6 separate regions of the Homo sapiens genome follow, and all the other regions are linked to region 5. Evidence: promoter capture Hi-C in human tissues and cell types (Jung and others, 2019). All regions are on one chromosome and are shown on one strand. Each heading gives the region's core, a stretch centred on a gene start or on the middle of the fragment in contact. The rest is flanking DNA. Distances are from core to core; before and after follow the strand shown. Region 1 overlaps PABPC1L (poly(A) binding protein cytoplasmic 1 like). Region 2 overlaps STK4 (serine/threonine kinase 4). Region 3 has its middle 22 kb from the start of WFDC8. Region 4 holds the start of SPINT4 (serine peptidase inhibitor, Kunitz type 4). Region 5 holds the start of RBPJL (recombination signal binding protein for immunoglobulin kappa J region like). Region 6 overlaps STK4 (serine/threonine kinase 4).

Region 1 (3,813 bases), core at 342-2,841, 370 kb before region 5:
TACAAGGAAGTGTGTTGTGACTCAGTGTAAGGGTTAAGATTTTTCCAGCTGTCCAGCAATGTACCTCTGTGTCAAAGGTGACAGACAGGGCCATGGGATCTTGCAAGCAGTGGTGGATGGGAGGGTTCCACAGAAACCCTGTGGATGGAGGAGGATCCTGTATCCAGGATGGTGAGCGAGGGGGAGATCAAGGCTCTTCTGTGACCTGCTAAGATAGCTGCACTAAGCCCCCCCGCCACTCATGTCTCACAGATAGACGAGGCAGTGGCCGTGCTGCAGGCACACCAGGCTATGGAGCAGCCGAAGGCGTACATGCACTGAAACCAGGTGGGTGGAATGGTGACAGAAGCAGCTGAGCCCGGGAGAAGCTGTAAGGAAATAGGCAGGGACTGACTTTCACAAACACTGAGAATTGCGCCGTGTTCCTGGCTTTCTCTGAAGCACCAAAGAGTTTGGAGGAAGTTGTGAGAATCAGAGGAGATGATTAACTGTGATCGGAATGGGGGGTGGTGGAGGGTGAAGGAGGTGCCCTCTTGCCAGCTGCCCTGCCTGGCTTCATGCAGAATAGTTTGGGCTTTCCCAGGGCCCTGCCTGGCTCCATTCTGCCTGCCTGAAGGCCTGGCCAGGATGTAACCACCTTCTTTATTGAAGACTGGGTGTCTGCCATACTTTAAAAACACTTATTTTTACCTTTTTGTCCTCAGAAAAGGAAATCCTCGCTTCCATGGCTGCCAAAAGGACAGTGTTTCTGGCTCTCAGCCCTAAGGCCCTGCAAACTCTAACTTATTTCCCAATTAGTCTGTATCTATACTTGGGCTCTGTATGTGAATGAAGGTTGGTCACCCATCCAGCCTATTACCTTTTGCTTTGTGTATTAAAAGTGCTGCAAAATCTGCCTTGCCTCCCAGGAGGCCCTTTTGTGTCTGAGGGAGGTGGGGACAGAGCAAACGGTAGACATGACTGGGGTGGGGCTCAGGCTCTAAGAAACAGAAACCCTAAAGGAGTGCTGAAGTACACAGAGGGCATATACACAAGAGCAGGAGAAGTGTTAGGAACTGACCCATCAACAGTACAGTGGATGATGACATGGATATCACACAATGGACCAGAGCTACAGGGGCCCCCATCTGATGTGCATGCAGCCCCTGGCTTGGGCACCCTGCAGGGCAAACACCCAGCTGCTTCTCGGCTGGCTAAGGGGTTGTGTAACATAATTAACCCTTGTAGGAACGTTTTAGGGTACCTTCCCAGGTCAGGATTTTCCTCCCCTAATGGAGAAGTCTCTCGAAAAGCTTCTTTGTGTCAGTTAGTGCTCACCTCCCATCAGGGACGTACAGTCCAGGTCTTTGCCCTCTCGTGTACCGGAGCGGCCCAGTGAAAGTGGCTACTATGACCCAAGCAGACTGGGTTCTGCTAAAAATTCACCAGCAACAAATCTGACCGAGTCCTCAAGGCTGCTCTGCCACTCTCAGCAACTCACTCTTCCTGTTCTCCGCTCCACAGACCTCCAACCTGTCTTCACCATGTCCTGCCCACTTCTTTGGCTGCTTTTAATCTGTTCCCTGTGCAGCTCCATCGTCTTCTCCCCAAATCCTGACTGCTGGCATTTCTTTACTCTCAGTCCTGGGCCCTCTCGGTTTCTCATGCCATGTTCTCCTGAGCTATCTAATTTACAAGCGCATCTTCCATTTGTACCCAGTCGAGGATGACTCCCTGTTTTTTTCTTCAGCCCAGTCAACTCTTAAGAGCACCTGAGTCACCTCTCTTACATTCCACCGCCTACCTGCCATCAGCTCCTGGTTATCTTGGTAACACTCATGTCTAAATTCAAGCTTATGATTTAACTAAGTTTCTTTCTTTTTCATTCCTTGGTTCTTTTTTTTTTGAGACGGAGTCTCGCTCTGTCACCCAGGCTGGAGTGCAGTGACGTGACCTCTGCTCACTGCAACCTCCACCTCCTGGGTTCAAGCAGTTCTTTTGCCTCAGCCTCCAGAGTAGCTGGGACTACAGGTGCACTCCACCACACCCAGCTAATTTTTGTATTTTTAGTAGAGATGAGGTTTCACCATATTGGTCAGGCTGATCTCGAACTCCTGACGTCAGGTGATCCACCCGCCTCGGGTGGGGTTTACAGGCATGAGCCACCGTGCCCGGTCTTATTCTCTGATTCTCTCTTCCAGTGTTCTGTCTCCATAAATGGCCCCACCATTCTGTTGCAAAAGCCAAAATCAGAGGGTTTCCCCAGCCCTGCTGCCACACCACTTTCTCTCCTCCCCTCTTCCAGAGAAAATCCACCAACATGACCTCCTACCAGATCCAAATCCACTACCACTACCTAGTGGAATAAATCCACTAATTTGAGCTAAGCTCAACCCCTGCGCTCACTGCCTTCTGCCAGTTAACTGCATTTACCCTGGCCCTCCCGCAGTCTGTCCTCCACCATGCAGTCCTAAGGCTTCTTTCAAAATGCCTCTCTAATGTCTCATCCTTGCATAAATCCTGCAGTAGCTTCCCATCATTAGAATAAGGACTACTTTACACAGCCTAGGAGACCCTGCATGATCTGCTCTCTGCCCTGTCATTCCCACGTAACGGTGTTTTACCTTCTCTGGGAGTCGGGGTAGAATTCCATCATGACCATTAAGACAGTCACATTGATAGCTGTGTGTCCCTCTCCTAGAAACATTAACCTATGAGAAGCAGAAGTTTTATTCCTCAAAGCATCTCTGGAAAAGACTGAATGATGTTAAATTTCAAAGATGAGTGATGGGGATGAGGAAGCTTATGTTGTGTTCTTCAGACATTTTTGAAGTACAAAATGAGTAGTCTCTTCGGGTTGTGCCGGCCCCACCCTCTGTGTCTTCACTAGCAAATCAAGTTGCTTGCCTTCTAGAGCTCAGAATGATGTAAACCAGTTGTGACTGGATGTCACGAAACCTGCCTCACATCAGTCCTGCCTGCTTATGAGGCAATAAAAGGGGTACGGTGCCCCACTTTGAAACTGTCCCTTGACTGTGCCGATGGGGTTTGTCTGACTCTAACTCTGCTTCAGCCTGGATGTCTGTGATGGCTCAGACAACAGACTCATCCTTAAGAGAGCTCAGAGGTGGTGTGCTTAACGCCGAGTGCTGCCTAGCACTATGTGATGGGAGCCAAGGGATGATCAGACCCCTTTGTCTACTCTGCTCTGTGGAATCCTAAAACTCTACTTCCATTAGGTGAAAACCAGCCCAGGAAAGGGAGGCAGCCCTTGATTCTAGCTAGATCCTAGAGCACTCTCCAGCCTCACCCCATACCATGTTTTGTGAATTTCATCAGCCCTTTTAGGTCCCTGTACTCACTGGCTGTGCTCCCAATGAGGGCCTTACATGGCCGTTCTGTCCACGGTGTTTCCCTCCCCTCTTCACTAGTTAACCTCCCCATCTGGAACTCAATTCAAGCTTTACTTACTCAGGGACCCCCTTCCCTCCACTGCATCAAATTTCCCCTTTTGGGCAGGGAAATCACTGACGACTGCTTCACAACACTCAGGCAAGCTGCAATTTTACATGTGTGTGGTTGTCTGATTAACTTCTTGCCTTCCCACTGGACTACCAGCCCTCTGAGAGCAGGGGCTGTGTCTATTCACTGCTATCTATCTATCTCCCTAGCACTATTCACAGTGCCTGGCCCATGCAGACATGTCAATAAATTTGTTCAACAAATGAATGAATGCCCAATAAGCAATAACTTTTATTATTACTACAGAGTTCCAGGTGCAAAGCTGAAAAGGCATAAATGAAAGCACAGCAGATATTGATGTAGAAGAAAGCT
Region 2 (3,330 bases), core at 539-3,038, 280 kb before region 5:
AATTTCAAACTAAGCAATAAAATTGAGATGAGAGATACATGAGCTGCTCTCCCAACAAAGATCAAATGAAAACTGTCTTCATAGTTGATATTCTTGTTACATAGCTTTTACCTTGATCCTAAAGCAAGCATTTGAAATAATAGTCTAGAACAGTGGTTCTCAAAGTGGTCCCAGACCAGCAGTGTTAGCATCACCTAGAGACTGTTAGAAAGGCAGTTATTCAGGCCTTACCCCAGGCAGACTGAATAGGAATATCTGGGGACAGCACCCATTGATTGGTGTTTTAACCTGTCCTCCTGGTGACTCTTACCCACTAAAGTTGTTCTAAAAGGTTTTTACAGTAGTATATCTTCATATACATTTCTTGTTTTCTTTTCTATTAGGTACTATAGAAATTCAGAGATAAGGATGTATTTCTATTTTATTAACATTGTATGATTTTTAAATTTCCTTGTTATTCCCCTTTTGAGTCTCCTATACTCTTACTGGAGGTACCAAAGAAGCACATAAAATATGGAAAATGTATGTTTGTAAGTGACATCTGGCAAATAAAGAGCTAGTCCTTTGAGTGAAGAAAGTTCTGAATAATCTCCTGAAAGCTTAACGAAGGATATGTGTCAGACTTGCTAACATGTTTCCCTCACAGTTGCTTTTTTTTTTTTTTGAGATGGAGTCTCACTCTGTTGCTCAGGCTGGAGTGCAGTGGTGACATGATCTCAGCTCACTGCAACCTCTGCCGCCCGGGTTCAAGCACTTCTCTGCCTCAGCCTCCTGAGTATCTGGGATTATAGGTGCCTGCCACCACACCCAGCTAATTTTTGTATTTTTAGTAGAGACAGGGTTTCACCATCTTGGCCAGGCTGATCTTGAACACCTGACCTTGTGATCCACTCTCTTTGGCCTCCCAAAGTGCTGGGAGTACAGGCGTGAGCCACCGGGCCCAGCCTCCTTCACAATCTCTTACAGACTTTCTGATTTCTAGGCAGATAGTATTTAATTATGAAAAAAGATAATTCTGTTTCCTCCTATGAAGAGAATTGCTGCTTTCCAATGACCTTTTTGCCCAAAATGGCAAATAGGAAGTAATTTAATCAGGAGTAGCCGAATTTTGTACTGACAAAACTTCATATTTTCATCTGAAACTGAATATTTGTCTCATTTCTAAAAGTGAATTGCCTGTTTGCCAAGTTGAGAAACCCCTCCAAAAATTTCTAATAGTGTTTAAGATACATAGTGATTAAAATATAAAAGGTGCTTAAAAATGCAATAGTCTCTAAAATTGATATTTCATATTCTATTAGCAGATCACTTTTTTGGAAAAAAATGTAATATTTTGTGAGAATTCAGACCTTCCCATTTTGCCATTCATAAAGCCACAAACAGCTGTAAACTTAAATCCAATTTGGCTCATGAATCTTCCAAAAACACACTGTAATATTTTAGTTTAAGATGACCCAGGCTGGGTGCAGTGGCTCATACCTGTAATCCCAGCACTTTGGGAGGCTGAGGTGGAAGGTTTGCTTGAGCTCAGGAGTTCGAGACCAGCCTGGCACATAGTGAGACCCCATCTCTATTACAAAAATAAAAAAAAGATGGCCCAAGTGCCAACAGTGGTGAACAAAACAGACCAGGCCCATGTTCTCATGGAGTTTACAGTGAAGGAAATAGACATTAAGCCAGTACCCTAGTAGGTATCAGTTCAGGTAATAATAGCGAATTTTTTTTTTTTTTAAAGCACAGTTAAGAGATATTGTGAGAAAAGGCCTGTGGAGAGACAGGACATTCAGCTGAGACATCAGTGAAGAGGGGAAGCAAGTCACAGGAAGGTAGGGGAAATAAGTACAGAGACTGTGAGGCAAGACATAGACTATGTGTAAGGAAGGAAAGGAGTCCATTGTGGCTGGAGCCGAGTGACACATGGGATAGCAGTTTAAATGTAAATGCATCAGTAATCACAGTAAATGTGAGTGCACTAAAATCTCCTATTAGAAGAGAAAGAGTCTGGATAAAAATAACAGTCAAATTCCGGCTAAATGCTGTTTATAAGAGATGTAACGGAAAGAAAATACAACCGAAAAGTTTAAAACAGAGGAATGGAAAAAGATACACTAGGCAAATACTCACTAAAAGAAAGTGGGTGAAACAATATTGATATCAAATGAGGCCAAGCATGGTGGCTCATGCCTGTAATCCCAGCACTTTGGGAGGCCGAGGCAGGCGGACCACGTGAGGTCAGGAGTTTGAGACCAGCCTGGCCAACATGGTGAAACCCCATCCCTACTAAAAGTACAAAAAATTAGTTGGGCGTGGTGGCAGATGCACCTGTAGTCCCAGCTACTCAGGGGGCCGAGGCAGAAGAATTGCTTGAACCCAGGAGGCGGAGGTTGCAGTGAGCCGAGATCATGCCACTGCACTCCAGCCTGGCTGACACAGCGAGACTTCATCTCAAAAAAAAAAAAAAAAAAAAATCAGATGAAATAGAATTTAAGACAAAAGAATGTTACCTGGGAAGGATATGTTTTATACTGTTAAAAGGTATACTTTATCTAGAAGATGTAAGTCATGCACCTATATGAAACATACATATTTATCCCAAACTGATAGAAATAGAAGGAGCAATGAGAATACTGCAATTATAGTTTCAAGAAGTTAATCAAGAAGACTTAAATATTCTTCTCTCCAAAATTGACATTTCAGTTAGACAAAAAACTAACGCAATTAACAACACTGATAAAACAGAAAATAGACAAAATTTCTAATATATATGAAACTTTAAAAACATGGAATATTTGTAAAACAACTATTTTATTCTTTTTTTTACCTTTATTTCAGGTTCAGGGGTACATGTGCAGGTTTGTTACACAGGTGAATTGTGTGTCATGGGGGTTTGGTGTACAGATTATTTCATCACACAGGTAATAAGCATAGTAACCCATAGGTAGTTTTTCGATCCTCACCCTCCTCCCACCCTCTGCCCTCAAGGAAGCCCTGATTTCTATTGTTCTGTTCTTTGTGTCCATGTGTACTCAGTGTTGAGCTCCTACTTACAAGTGAGAACATGCTGTATTTGGTTTTCTGTCCTTGTGTTAGTTTGCTTGGGATAATGGCCTCCAGCTCATCCATGTTGCTGCAAAGGATGTGATCTTGCTCGTTTCTGTGGCTGTGTAGTATACCATGTCAACATGTACCACATTTTCTTTATCCAGTCTGTCATTGATGGGCATTTAGGTTAATTTCATGTTTTTGCTATTGTGAATAGTACTGCAGCGAACACAACACATGCATGTGTCTTTATGGTAGAACAATTTCTGTGCCTTTGGGTATATACTC
Region 3 (3,655 bases), core at 532-3,031, 290 kb after region 5:
CATGCCTGGCTAATTTTTGTATTTTTAGTAGAGATGGTATTTCACCATGTTGGCCAGGCTGGTCTTGAACTCCTGATCTCAAGTGATTTGCCCGCTTGTGGTTCTCAAACTCTTGACACATCAGTTGAGTGGCAGTGTCCACCGTGCCAAAGCCTTCCCAACTTCAGATGACCTGACGTTTTCTTTCGTTTTGCGGGGGAAATGTAAGTAAAAGTTCCTGGAAATTTCTCAGTTAATTCTTACAGGTCTGGAAGGTGGTCTGTAAGGAAGTCTTTGGATGAAGCTTGAAAAGGGTGCAATACTCATCAAAGCAGTGAGTTCAGCACCAGGCAGATTGAATGTACCACCTTCTCTCCCCTCTTCAGGTCCTATCCTTACCACCCATGTGGTCTCAGGGCTTGGGTCATCTAGTATGAATCACAGCAAACCAGGGGTCATAGAAGTTAGAGGTTTATGATATTAAGTATATGTGCATCTTAGTGATGGGTGCCTCTTGGAATAGTGAGGAAGAAGGGAGGAAAAATGGAGAAGGCTGTGCCACACATAGACCAAAACAAGAAGGCCCTCTCTTTGAGGGGCCCTCCTCTAGCTCTGTCATTTCCCCATAGAGCAAAAAGCTTATGGAACCAAGAGGATGCTCACCTGGAGACTGCACTGCCGCTTCTAGATTACCATGGGTAGCAAGTACCCAAGAACACCCTTTCCAAATGGCTCTAAGCCCATCTCCAGACCTGTGCAGGCTTTTCCTAAGATATATCTTCCAAAAAATGGACCTTGTCATTGGTGTGCATATACCTGAACCCAAGCATTGGCCAAGGGGCAACGGTTTGCAGGTACATGTGGAGAAAGCTTAGAATTGTGGGCTTTTGTGTCTACTAGACTGAGCTTTCTACCCATTCCTCCATATACTCCTCATTATTTTCTTTTTATGATTACAAAAGCAATCCATATTTATTGTAGAAAATTTTTCAAAAACTGAAAAACAATAAGAAGCAAATAGAAAATTACCAGCAATTTAATGACCCTGAAATTATCATGTTATCATTTTGGTGTATATGCTCCATGTAGTGCATCTCCATGGGGTGTGTGTGTCTCTGTGTGTGTCTGTGTGTGTGTCTGTGTATCTGTGTATGTGTGTGTGACCTACACACAACTAGGCATTCCCTAGTGGTGCCAAACAATCAATATCTTTTATGGGCCCTCCGTTAAACATCGCTGTACTCACAAAGAAACATAAATCCAATTCTATAAATATTGGGAATTTTACTGATGGTAAAATTAAAATAGGAGGAGGAGGTTACATCACTATCATATGGTAACATTCCCTTAAAAATCATCTCTTTATCTTTCCTAAATATTCCACTGTCTTTGACTGCTATACCTCTCTCTCTTTTCTTTCACCAAGCCTCTCTCTTTGCTTTCCTTCTGGTAAAAGCAGTCTCTCTCTCTCTCTCTCTCTCTCTCTCTCTATCCCCCCCTCTCCCTCTCTCTCTACCCCTGAATCTGGCCTTTCTAAACACCCTCAACTTGTGTACCTGTATACTATACTGAGCTACACTAAAGTTTCTATATTTAGCCAAATCCAGCCCATCATACCAGCTCTTCCCCTGGTATATTCCTAGGAGTGGAGCTCGGTTCACGCTGTTTCACACTTTCCTTGGGAAACACTCTGTGTTCTTCTGCAAAGAGGAGTAGGCAATATGTTTTCAGATTCACAGACAAGCTTCTCCTTCCACCGTCTTGCTCCCACCCTATGCTAACCTGTTCACAAAGGTTAAGCAAGCAGTTGGAATTATGGAATCTCCCATCTGGTTTCCTAATCATATTTTTACCATCAGTATCAGGCCCATACTCATGTTTCATCCCCACACTGCTCCTAGCCAGGTTCAGAACCTCTCTCTAGGGTCTCCTCCTCTGGTAACAAAAGAATGGGTTTACCATGTTTGTTTCTCATTAGCATAAGTGGTTATAAGATGCACCTCATTTGCTATAATTGAAGAAAAGACAAGTGTATTTCCACTCTCAGAGTCCAAGGCAGTCCCAAGTGTGACTTTTAATATGTCTCACACTTTCTGGGCTCTGAGAAGGGCAGGATGCTAGTGCTCAAATGACCACAACAATGACAATTATAAACATCTCTGACATGAGACATGATGTATACAACTGATTGTACCTGTGTCCTGGGTTTATTTGCAATGCCTGCAAATGAATTCACCCTGTAGGGAGATTATTAAAACTACCATGGATATGTTTGAACTGTTGTGAGAATTACCAAAATGTGAAACAGAGACATGAAGTGAGGACATGCTGTTGGCAAAATGGCACGGGTAGACTTGTTCAATGCAGGTTGCCACAAACCTTCAATTTGTAAAAAATGCAATATCTGCGAAGCATAATAAAACAAGGTGCAATAAACGAGGTATGCCTGTATATCCGACTGATTGATGGTGCTGTTGAGTTCAACTGTGTCCTTACTAATTTTCTGCCTGCTGGATCCCATTCATAACTGAGGCATGTTGAAGTCTCCAACTACAGTAATGGATTCATCTATTTCTCCTTGCAGTTCCATCAGTTTCTGCCTCACATATAGTTTTTAAATGTATTTTTAAATGCACATTTGACTTTTTAAAATGTATATATTTAAATGTATATATTTTAAATATATATATTTAAGGTACACAATTTGATGATTTAATATACATATACACTGTGGAATAATCACCACAATAATTTGTCTATCATCTCAGATAGTTACCATTTTCTTTCTCCCCTTTATTCCTTTCTTGCTTTTTTTCCTTTTTTTTTGGTGAGAATGCTTAAGATACATTATCTTACCAAAGTTCAACTATACAATAAAGTATTGTTAATTATAGTCACATTGCTATTCATCAGATCTCAAAAAAATATTGATTATGCACAACTAAAACTTCGTACCCCTTTGACAACTTCTCCCCACTTCTTCCTCCCTCCAGCTCCTGGTTATCACCACTCTACTATCTGTTTCAACGGGTTTGACTATATTAGATCCCACAAATAAGTGAGATCATGCGGCATTTGTCTTTCTGCATCTGGTTTGTTTTACTTAGCACAATGTCCTCCAGGTTCATTCTTGTTGTGTCACCTGATAGAGCTGTTATTTCTATCTTGGTGAAAGCTGAATAATAGTCTAGTGTGTATGTATGTGGGTGTGTGTTTACCATATTTTTTAAAATCCATGCATCCATCAATGGACATTTAGTTTGCTTCCACATCTTGGCGTTTCTGCATAATGCTTAAATGAACATGGGCATGCAAATATCTCTTCAAGATCCTGTTTTCAATTCTCATCGATATATATCAAGAAGTAGGACTGCTGAATCACATGGTAGTTCTATGTTTAATTTTGTTTGGAACCTCTATGCTGTTTTCCAGAGCCACTACACCATTTTCATTCCCACCAACAGTGCACAAGGTTCCCATTTCCCCATGTCCTTGCCAACACTTGTTATCTTCTGTTTTGTTTTTGTTTTATGGGAGGTGTGTGTGTGTGTGTGTGTGTGTGTGTGTGTGTGTGTGTGTGTGAAATAGTGGTAGTCCTAATGTATGAGATGATATCTCATGGTGGTTGTGATTAGCATTTTCCTGATGATTAATAATTTTAAGCATTTTTCCAAAT
Region 4 (3,322 bases), core at 816-3,315, 420 kb after region 5:
CTAGAGGCAGAAATACCATCTGACCCAATAATCCCATTACTGGGTATATACCCAAAGGAACATAAATCATTCTATTATAAAGACACATGCATGCATATGTTCATTGCAGCACTATTCACAATAGCAAAGACATGAATCAATCCAAATGCCCATCAATGATAGACTGGATAAAGAAAATGTGATACTGAAATATATATATATACACACACACACCATGGAATTCTATGCAGCCATAAAAAGAAATGAGATCATGTCCTTTGCAGGGATATGGATGGAGCTCGAAGCAGTTATCCTCAGCAAACTAACACAGGAGCAGAAAACCAAACACTGCATGTTCTCACTTACAAGTGGTAGCTGAATGATGAGAACACATGGACACATAAGTGGAACAACACACACTGGAGCATATCATGGGGGTGGTAGGGAGAGGGAGAACATCAAGAAGAATACCTGGTGAATGCTGGGCTTAATACCTAGGTGTAGGGATGATCTGTGCAGCAAATCACCATGGCACACATGGTTTATGTATGTAACAAACCTGCACATCCTGCACATGTACCGCTGAAATTAAAATAAAAGTTGAAGATTTTTTTAAAAGATAGCATTTACAATAATATTAAAAATATAAATAAGATTGTAACACCTGCATGAGAAATGTCATAAACCTTTCTTTAAAATATTAATGAAGGTCAAAATAGATGGAAATATATATATCAAAGACAATATTATAAGGATATCATTCTTTTCCAATTGATTTGTAGATCCAGTGCAATTCAAATGAATATCCAAAATAGGTGTTTTGTTTTTGTTTTTGTTTTTGTTTTCGTTTTCGGTCAGAGTCTTGCTCTGTCACCCAGGCTGGAGTGCAATGGCACAGTCTCAGCTCACTACAACCTCTGCCTCCCAGTTCAAGCAATTCTCATGCCGCAGCCTCCCAAGTAGCTGAGATTACAGGAACTCACCACCATAACCAGCTAATTTTTGTATTTTTAGTAGAGACGGGGTTTTGCCATGTTGACCAGGCTGGTCTCCAACTCCTGACCTCATGGGATTCACCCACCTCAGCCTCCCAAAGTGCTGGGATTACAGGCATGAGCCACCACGCCTGGCCCGAAACAGGTCTTTTGAATAACTTGATAAACTGACTAAAATTTATATGAAAATACAAAATCCTAAGATAAACAAAGTTCAAGAGATTAAGTGTGGCTTTGGAGTGGGGGTATACAGTGGAGTGAAATAAAGGGCTCAGAAGCAATCCCACATAATTAAGCAAAATTATTTTGCAGTTAAATAGAAGAGGAACTCATTAATAAATAGGTCTGGAACCACTGAAAAATGAAAAAGGATCCTTATGTTATACCTTACCAAAAAATCAACATCAGGTGGTTTTAGGGTGTAAAGGTAAGCCAAAACTTCAAAACTTTTAGGAGAAAACAGATCCAAGATGTCCTCATGTTCCTAGATAACATAGTGTAGTGTGACTAAGAACAAAAACTCTGAAGCCAAGTTCAAATCTTGTCTCTACCACATAATAAATGAGTGACCTTGTACATGTAACCTAATCTCTGTCTCCATTTCATCCTTAAATGATGGTAATAACTGTACTTACTTCATAGGGTGTATATGATGATAAAGTATATACAAATTACTTAAAAATAGCACCTGGAATTAAGTAGTACTCTAGGTTATAACTAACCCTGTTACTATTATTATAGTGCTATTGCACTCTTTCTCTTGTGCCATGATTAGTTTCTTCTGTGCATAAAAGGTCAAAAAGAGAAAGGAAGAAATCCCTTTTTAATTCCTCACTCTGATGATTCTACCCTTCATGATTAAATATATGCAGAAGCTCTGATCCTTAAGTTTCTATTGCTTCTAGATGAACATGGGACTCACTATCAAGGGTCTAATCAGTTTGGGGCCTTCAGCTTCATGGCTGGGTACCCAAGCACTCACTGTTCAACTCAACACCTAGTAATGTCCAGTCCTGGCCCTTGGGGTAGGTGAGCTCAACCGTCTCAAGTATCAAGCCCAAAATATAACATCAGGTGATACCACAACTATCCTGCCTGCTGCTTGCTGCACCATGAAGTCTGCCAAGCTGGGATTTCTTCTAAGATTCTTCATCTTCTGCTCATTGAATACCCTGTTATTGGGTGGTGTTAATAAAATTGCGGAGAAGATATGTGGAGACCTCAAAGGTATGAAGCTAAGGCAGAAAATAAATCCAAAGGTCAATTATGAATGAGAGAGAAGGTATTGGGAGAAAAGTGTGTTATCTAGGTAGTCCAGGAAGGTCTTCCTTTCATGACAATACCCATAGACACTTAGTCCCTTGACTCAGGGCATTACTTACACTAGGGGTCCTCTGGATGTTTGATGAGAAAAAACAGAAATGACACAAAGTCCTTTCCAGATGGAGACCTCTTTTATAGGAGGTCCAAAGGACTGGAAGTATTTTGAATCAGAGGTTGTGTGACAAATTTCAAAGATCCCAGACCATTGATGATTATGTATTGGGATGAGAGAGAAAGGGGGTTGGAGACAGAGCAAATTAAGACATTTTCAGTATCTGGGCTATGGACATATACAGAACTCTTGGACAGATGATTCCTGTTTAGAGGAGCTCACAATGTAAATGTGAGAGGCAATGAGACTTTCTTCCATAGATAGTGTGTGAAGGCTCAGCGCTTCCAGGGGACGAGAAAGTAGCACAGTTTATACCGTAAGTCAGACACTTCAAGTTCTGGACCTGTTCACTTAGCAGATATGTGCCCTTGGACAAGTCACTCAACCACTTATTATTCTCTTAGTCTCAGTTTCCCCATGTGTAAAATGAAGATCAGAAAAGTGCCTGCTGCAGAGGGTGTTTGTGAGTATGAAATAAGATTATGCACATAACTTTACCAGAGAGTAAATTCCAGGCTGGCTGCTTGAGTAAGGTGGATTGTCAATACAACCATGATTGTGGCTGTTCCAACCACTTACTACCCAACTCTTAACAATAAAAACAGAGGGTTTGCCTCTGAGAAGGCAAGAAAGGAGAAGATGACGGGGTATGAGGATGAACGAGCATCACCCCAAGGTTATGCATTTTAGCATTTTAGTATGCATCCTGCTTTAAAGATAGCAGCAGCCATGGTTACTTAAATTTTGAAGTATAGGTAGTATAGTGAATGTATGAAACTGGGGAGGAGGCACTCTGAATTGCATGTCCTATGTGGGCAATTAAAAGGAAAGGAAGATGATGTGGGGAAGCAGGAGGATACTGTACTTTAATAAACTGTAAGATAGGAAATGTAGGGAAGCTCATCGCCCTGCA
Region 5 (3,821 bases), core at 33-2,532:
CGGGCCAGCAAAGAAGGCCTCTCATGGCGCTTGGGGACAGAGAATGGAGGTGTCAGAGCCTGGAGGGAGGAAGGAAAATAGAAAAGCAACAGTATTTACAGAGCTCTTATTCTGGGTGATAGGCACTTGGAGGGGGAAGACAGTTACAGGTTTATTTTACTAATCTCTCTATTTTTGTGTATGTTTGAAATGTTTCAGAATTAAAAAATTCTCATCACAGTGGGATTGCTGGGAAACACAAGAGATTCTTTTTTTTTTTTTTTTTAGATAGAGTCTTGCTCTGTCGTCCCGGCTGGAGTGCAGTGGCATGATCTCGGCTCACTGCAACCTCTGCCTCCCAGGTTCAAGCGATTCTCCGGCCTCAGCCTCCCGAGTAGCTGGGATTACAGGCTCCTGCCACCACACCTGGCTAATTTTTTGTATTTTTAGTAGAGAGCGGGTTTTGCCATGTTGGTCAGGCTGGTCTCAAACTCCTGACCTCAGGTGATCCTCCCACCTCGGCCTCCCAGAATGCTGGGATTACAGGCGTGAGCCACCGCGCTCGGCCCACAAGAGAATGGTAAATAAGAATAGATACATAGATACAAATATGCAAAATTTAAACAGAAAAAAACAGGTCTTCCTTAAATGTCAGGCACAGTGTTAAATGCTCTTCACGCATTGTGGCATTTAATCCTCTCTGCAATTGTAAGACTAAGGCTGTGATTGTCCCCCATCATACAGACAATGAAATTGAGGCTCAGAAAAGTTAAGCGCTGGTACCCAAAGTCATTCGGCCAAAAAGTGGCTGCGGCAGGATACAATCCCACGCCTGCTAGTTTCTGTGAGCCAGCCTGGGCGTTTGGTGCCTCTCCTCCTGCCAGGCGAACCTCTGCAGACAGAAGCCCTTCCCCACCTCGGCCCACTCCCCTACGCACACAGGCTTCTGTGTGGCTGTCTTTGCAACTCGCCAACCCCCCCAGACCCCTCCACACACACAAACACAGACATGCACTGCCCAACCGCAGGCGGCAGGGAGGGGCTGCGCCCTGTTGCGGGGCTGAGCGTGGTGGCGTGGCAGCGAGTGGACCAAAACCCACTGCGCACGAGAACGCGCGGCTTGGCGCCTGTTTCCCGCCTGCTCTCAGGAGCGACCGCCAGGGGGCGCCCGAGATGGCAGGGGGCGTGGGAAGCCCACATCTGCCCAGCAGGTGCGCCCACCCCGAGCAAACAGGGGGCCGGGGCCCGGGGCCTTGGAGATAAGGCCTGGACAGGATATAACCCGCGCAAGAGCCGAGGAGCAGGGGTGTGCAGGGTTCCAGCGACAGCAGCACTGGACTCGTCCAGAGGGCGGCGGGTGAGCGGCTGGGGCCCCGTGGAGCCACCATGGACCCCGCAGGGGCAGCAGGTGAGCGCTTACCCTCCCGAGGCCCCGGAGACGCCCCGTGAGAACTACGAAGGACCACCCCCCCACCCCCTCCCCACTATACAAATAGGAAAACTAAGCCCCAAGGAGGCAGCCCGCCGAACTGCAAAAGCAGGATTAGAACCTAGGGCTCCTGGTTCCCCTTCTCTCTCTTGAGGCCCCCTGGCGCCTAGAATTCACTAAACCTCATTTCCTTCCAGCTCCTACCCCACCGCCGCGCCCCATGCTGAAGCTGTGTTAGCCATTTTTCTGTTGCTGTTTCTTGGCAGAGAGGGCCAGCTGCCCCTAACCCAACAGCAGCTCCGCCCCCGCCCCCCAATTCCGTGAATGCGCCTATTCTGAGCGAGGCCAGTGCCTGCTTCTCACTCCAGGCGACCTTCTCATCCCGGATTCTTCTCCCTTTTCCCCTCCCAGGCCTGGTAGAAGAACATAAATCCTCTGGCAGGGCCCGTCGTGGGAGGGTGACCAAGCAAGATGTGGCAGCGCTGGTGGAAGTGGGAGGGCGGGGAACCCTTGTCAAGCTTGGGCCACAGGCAAAGCCAACATCCCTGGACAGCATGAGGGCTAAGGCACAAGGGGCCTCTGCCACCTCCCATACTTTCCTACCCGGAGATGCCTCTGGGCCCCTAAATCTTGGTTAAGGTTCCCCTCATCCCATTCTTGGTCTGAGCCAACTTCTCACCTGGCACCCTGCCTCCACCCCAGGAATCCTAGAAAGTCAAAATAGCAAATGCCTCAAAGTTCATCACCTTTCCAAACCCCTCATTCTACAAAGAAAGGAACTAGGTCCAGAGAGGGTAGTGTCTTGCTGAAGGGTACATGGCGATGTCGTGGCAGGACTGATACTAGAACCTGGGATTCCTCTGAGGAGTTAATCCTTGCATTAAAAAAAGAAAGATTCAGAGATGCCCTGAGGTGAGGTTGAGGGAGTGGAGCAGCAAGGGAGGAGAGGCCTGTAAATAAATTCTCAAAAGTCCCTTAGGGACATTTCAGGGGGTTCCTGGAGGGATGAGAGTAGAAAAGGGATGATCCTATTTTGATGGCTTTGAGGGTGGGGGCTCGATTTGGAAAGGACCCTGCAGAAGTGGGGAAGGGCACTGCAAATCAGATAGGGCACCCTAGGCAGCGTCTCTGCTAAAATACACTCGCCTGACCTGGCTTGATGCCTACTCCCCTGCAGACCCCTCAGTGCCTCCCAATCCTTTGACTCACCTGAGCCTGCAGGACAGATCAGAGATGCAGCTGCAGAGCGAAGCCGACAGGCGGAGCCTCCCGGGCACTTGGACCAGGTAACGGCGGCGTGGCAGCGTGCCCTAGGTGGGGACTGCCAGGCAGCTGGAGCACACAGAGGCAACGGCCGCATTTAACCCAGGGCTGGCGGGTGGGGAGGGGAAGTGCAGGCTGCAACCCCTCCCACTGGCAGGGAGGGATCCCCCCTTCCTCCTGAGGGGGGGCAAACCCAGCACCCCCTGCTCCTACCACGCTTGGAGCTGCAGACAGGGCTAGCTGCGGGCCAGGCTGGAATTCAGCTACAGCGGGAGACTGGGGAGACCGGGGCAGCCACACTCCACAGCCGGAATTCATTGGAAGCTTAGAAGGCACTTCCCTGAGGAGAGCCCCAAGGGGTGGAGCGGTCCTGGCTGTGGCTGCTGCCTGTCTGGCCTGGCTTTCGAGGGTGCGGTCTTGCGCTGTCCCCTCCAGGAGTGAGGAGAGACTCTGGTCCTGCCAAGAGGAATAAGGGCTCAGAAGGACAGCCTCAGTTTTCATGGCTCTCCTTGGGCCTCAACCTGCTAACCCCCCAAATCTCTCCCACCTCCCCTCCTCTACTTGCTCCCTGCAATTGCTCGGGCCTACCCACCCACACCGCTCAAGACCCCCAGGTTAAGAAGCCACCAGACCTCTAGGCTCTAACCTGGCTCACTCTGCAGGACCAATGTCATCTGCCTTGACTCCTGTAATCAAGGGTAGGAAAGCCCACACAGCAACAGGCCACTTCTCATGGGAGAAAGGGAAGAATATGGCTTTGGCCCCAGAAAGGCTCAGATTCCCCCAGGCCATCCCCCATCCTGAGGACAAGGTTTTGGGCCCTTTTCTGTTTGCAGGCAGGAGGCTAGAGAGCGCTCCAGGCCAGGAGCCCAGGAAAGGCTCTCCCTTCCCCTCCCTCCTCACCCCCCACCCTGCCTTCCCCAGGGTGGGGAAGCTTCATCTCTACCAATTCCATCAGCCCTAAAATACTCTTCTCCATCCCAAGGCCAGTATAAGTGCAGCCTTTGTGTCACAGCCACGTGTCCCTATGGCCCTGGGCTCCAATGGGCATGATGCCAGACCCACAGAGTGGAACCTGGGTGGTCCCATGGGTTCCATGCAGGCTTCGTTGAGCACCTTGCAGCCTAAATATTTAGCCTACAATTTGCAG
Region 6 (3,427 bases), core at 728-3,227, 260 kb before region 5:
AAACATTGATTGGAAATACAGTGTTGGGAATTCCCTTGATCGAATTGGATAAAGCATAAAGCATTTAGCAAAGTGCCTGGCATTCCTAATCTATTATTAATATGTGGGTTCCTTTTAGAGTGATGGCTTATTTATAGTGAAGAAGAGCAGTGGGTTGGGAATCAGGTCTCAGCTCTGACTGTAACTAGCTTTGTGTCCTTAAGTAAGCCACCTAACCTTTCTGGGACTCTGTTTCTTTGTCTGCTAAAGGTAAGATTAAGCCTTCAAGAGCCCTCAAACTCTCTTGGTCTTTGTTTGCCAATTTAAAAAATGCAGCTAATGCGTCTCTCTCATAGGGATCATGTGAGCCTAAAATAAAGAGCTTGTGTAAAGTGTGTAAAAGATGCTCAGTATATATAAGGTTCTTTTCCTGTTCTTTTAAAAGCAGAGAAATGCTTAGGACACCCAGGACGCCAACATGAGCATAGAAGGCAGTCTGATATACTGACCAAGAGCAGATAGACTTGGATCCATTGCTGGTTTCATTATTTATGGGACCAGTAACTCTAGGCTTCTCACCCAACCTAAAATGAAGATACTAATCATATTTACTTCTGAGTTATTGAGAAGATTAATTTAAAAATGCTTTTAAAGTGCTTAGCAGAGTATCTGACACAGAGTAGGCATTCAGTAAATTTTATTTACATGTGTAACACTTAGGGTGGGAGACATGGATGAACTACTGGAAAAGGGAAAGATACTGAGGTGGGCTGCCCTAAAAAAGGAAGGTAAGAGGAAGACCTACACTTATTTCACACTTTTGTTGCAGGCCCTGCTAGTTCACACATTGTTTGCTTTGTGATTTTTTTTTTTTGAGACGGAGTGTTGCTCTGTTGCCCAGGCTGGAGTGCAGTGGCGTGGTCTTGGCTCACTGCAACCTCTGCCTCCTGCGTTCAGGTGGTTCTCCTGCCTCAGCCTCCCGCCACCATGCCCGGCTAATTTTTGTATTTTTAGTAGAGACGGGGTTTCACCATGTTGGCCAGGCTGGCCTCGAACTCCTGACCTCAGGTGATCCATCCGCCTCGGCCTCCCAAAGTGCTGGAATTACAGGCGTGAGCCACCATGCCCAGCCATGATATTTATTTTATACCTAAGATGAGCTTAATTCTGTTATGACTTTCTTGTTCCTAGGGTGAGCTTAATTCTGTTATGACTTTCTTGTTCCTAGGGTTTAAATATCAAGGATACTCACTAAAACACTGATAGACCTTTTGTGTTTTCTCTGATTGCTTCCCTTCTGTGCCTGCCTGGAGGCTATAGGTCCTGGACAGTTCCCACATTGATGTTTTTTTTTTCAAAACAGTTTTTTCCTGATGGTACATTTGTTAATGTAAAATAGCTCAAGTAAATGTATGTGCGTATGTATGAAAGAGACAGAGAGAGACAGAGAGAGCTGTATGGGATCCATCAGCTGCCGAGGGTACCCTTTCATCAAGCAGAGTTCACATTGCAGAGCATTGGATCAGAGGGTGGCCAGCAGCTGGAGGGAGAGCAAACTTGAATCTACTTTATAGACCCACTAGTCACTTCCATTTGCCCTTTACTTAGGAGAAAATACACAGCAAAAACTGTTCTTTAGACATGGATGCATCTAGTTTAATAAATCTTAATGTAGTGCTATTAAAAATGAGGTAAAGTCAGGAAATTTTCTACCCCCTCCCAAGTGCTCTTATTCCTAGATATGCAGGACCAAGCATAAAGTTATTTTCACACATTGGGAAGAAATGTTCCATTCCAATTTCAAGTGGAGGTTTTCCACTTTTGGAAGTGCTGCTGAGACTGCAATTATAAACTACAACTATTCTTTTAAAACAGTTCCTGGGATGAATTAAGATCTTGCAGTAAAAATACCATATACAATCTGTCACATTATCTGTGGAACTCTTCCCTTTGCCAGCTTGGTCAGTGAGGGTAACAGCTGCCCAGAGTTCATTGCTAAACGGATGTTTAACAATGGTACTGTGAATTCAGCACTTCATATTAGAATAATGCTTGAGTTCCTGGTATTCGGTTAATGGAGTTTTACGTACAGTGATACAGAAAATATGTGATGCACAGGATTTCAGCTTTTTAAGAATTCTCACCACTTCTCCTCCCATCTCAATTTTGTTGTTGTGGAAAATGAAAATCCCACAGGAAAGCCAAGTGTAGTCCTCATTCCCTGACTTCTGGCTTTGTACTCCATCACTTTCCACTTCCTTCCCCTCCCCTCTCTACACTGTTCACCTGGGCCTAAACGTCTGAATGACTGCAGCCTCAAGGAAAGCTTCAAGTTAGACTAGATGACCTTTAAGGTTTTGTTAATCCTGAGAATCCGTTTGGCCACATCAATGAGCTCCTTTGTATCTACTCAAATGTGATAGAACAGACGAGCATTCAGAGTAAGGGGATCTTCCTAGGCTGGCTGCAGAGAGAACAGTCAGCAGTGCTCGTGCCATGGCTACAGATTACACATCTCACTCTGGGGGTGTGTGGGGACTGGGAAAGGGGGAGCCAGTTTGGCCTGTGGCACATGTAATTTTTATACTTTGAACTACTGAAATGGGTCTGAGTTCTCCAGCTCTTCACAGACCCCATCACTTCCTGTTTTTGTTTTATGAGCAGACTGTTGAGTTTATTTCTGTTGTCTTTGCCAGTCTCTCAAAACATTTGTGTTTGTGATCTCTGATTTAACCAGTCTCCAGCTGATGGTCATTTAGGTAGCCTTCAGCTTTTTAATATTAATAAATATTGCTTTAATAACATCTTTGCATGGTACGCCCTTAGAATTAATTCCTGCAGTAGAATTATTGGGTCAAACTGTTCACAAATTTGAAATTTTGATACATATTGTTAAATTTCCCTATCGTTTTTGGTATGTGAATTGTTGCTTTATATTATTTACTGAATTTTCCATGGAATTCTTATTTTCTTTATTGATTTTAAAGACTTCTTCAGCTATCAAGTCAGGTTATGAACCTTTTAACATATGTGGTAAAGATATTCTGCTAGAATATCTTTTAAAGCTTTGTATATGGTATCTAACTTCAGACATTTAAATTTTTATATATTTTGATTTATTAGCTTTTTCTTGTGGTTTCTGGAATTTTATGTCATCTTTGGGAAAGTTTTTCACATTCTAAGATTACAAAAATATTAACCCTTACTTTGTTTTAGAATGTTTTATTATTTTTTCTTTCTCAATATTTAATCTATCATGTATTTGTCTTGGTGTTAAGAGTAAGGTAGCAATCGAGCTTTATATTTTTCTAACAACCAAGGGTTTAAAAAATACATAATTAATTTAGAATTACCAAATCTTAATAGCTTATAGTACCTAAAAGTGGCTTGTTTTTACAGATAGAAACTTTCCACTTCAAACTCTGAGTTTTAATGTTTTTCGGCTTTT

The links. The method cuts DNA at HindIII sites, captures the fragments that hold promoters and counts their contacts. A contact is called where the count stands out against the background at its distance.
Region 1: a contact is called between a fragment that was not itself captured here and the fragment with the promoter of RBPJL in region 5, in 1 of the 25 tissues and cell types used here (dorsolateral prefrontal cortex).
Region 2: a contact is called between a fragment that was not itself captured here and the fragment with the promoter of RBPJL in region 5, in 1 of the 25 tissues and cell types used here (dorsolateral prefrontal cortex).
Region 3: a contact is called between a fragment that was not itself captured here and the fragment with the promoter of RBPJL in region 5, in 1 of the 25 tissues and cell types used here (dorsolateral prefrontal cortex).
Region 4: the fragment with the promoter of SPINT4 here is called in contact with the fragment with the promoter of RBPJL in region 5 in 1 of the 25 tissues and cell types used here (spleen).
Region 6: a contact is called between a fragment that was not itself captured here and the fragment with the promoter of RBPJL in region 5, in 2 of the 25 tissues and cell types used here (dorsolateral prefrontal cortex and mesenchymal stem cells).

Annotation. Positions count from the first base shown.
Region 1 is chr20:44,938,422-44,942,234 of GRCh38, forward strand. PABPC1L (poly(A) binding protein cytoplasmic 1 like) reads left to right here. Exons shown (of 15, transcript NM_001372179.1): 14 at 253-327; 15 at 705-895. The coding sequence ends at 321. TOMM34 (translocase of outer mitochondrial membrane 34) reads right to left here. Exons shown (of 7, transcript NM_006809.5): 7 at 3,709-3,813. Among named protein-coding and RNA genes, the nearest start is that of TOMM34, 20 kb to the right of the region's middle. The HindIII fragment of the contact is 3,038 bases long and covers 73-3,110 here.
Region 2 is chr20:45,029,458-45,032,787 of GRCh38, forward strand. The region is part of intron 10 of STK4 (serine/threonine kinase 4); the gene reads left to right. Among named protein-coding and RNA genes, the nearest start is that of STK4, 65 kb to the left of the region's middle. The HindIII fragment of the contact is 5,333 bases long and covers 1-3,330 here.
Region 3 is chr20:45,599,219-45,602,873 of GRCh38, forward strand. No RefSeq gene overlaps it. Among named protein-coding and RNA genes, the nearest start is that of WFDC8, 22 kb to the left of the region's middle. The HindIII fragment of the contact is 6,478 bases long and covers 1-3,655 here.
Region 4 is chr20:45,720,282-45,723,603 of GRCh38, forward strand. It overlaps SPINT4 (serine peptidase inhibitor, Kunitz type 4), which reads left to right and starts at 2,066. Exons shown (of 3, transcript NM_178455.3): 1 at 2,066-2,201. The coding sequence starts at 2,087. The HindIII fragment of the contact is 7,531 bases long and covers 1-3,322 here.
Region 5 is chr20:45,305,558-45,309,378 of GRCh38, forward strand. It overlaps RBPJL (recombination signal binding protein for immunoglobulin kappa J region like), which reads left to right and starts at 1,283. Exons shown (of 12, transcript NM_014276.4): 1 at 1,283-1,387; 2 at 2,586-2,694. The coding sequence starts at 1,366. MATN4 (matrilin 4) reads right to left here and starts at 2,742. Exons shown (of 10, transcript NM_001393530.1): 1 at 2,618-2,742; 2 at 1-59. The coding sequence starts at 25. The HindIII fragment of the contact is 4,763 bases long and covers 1-2,460 here.
Region 6 is chr20:45,047,671-45,051,097 of GRCh38, forward strand. The region is part of intron 10 of STK4 (serine/threonine kinase 4); the gene reads left to right. Among named protein-coding and RNA genes, the nearest start is that of KCNS1, 52 kb to the right of the region's middle. The HindIII fragment of the contact is 3,661 bases long and covers 148-3,427 here.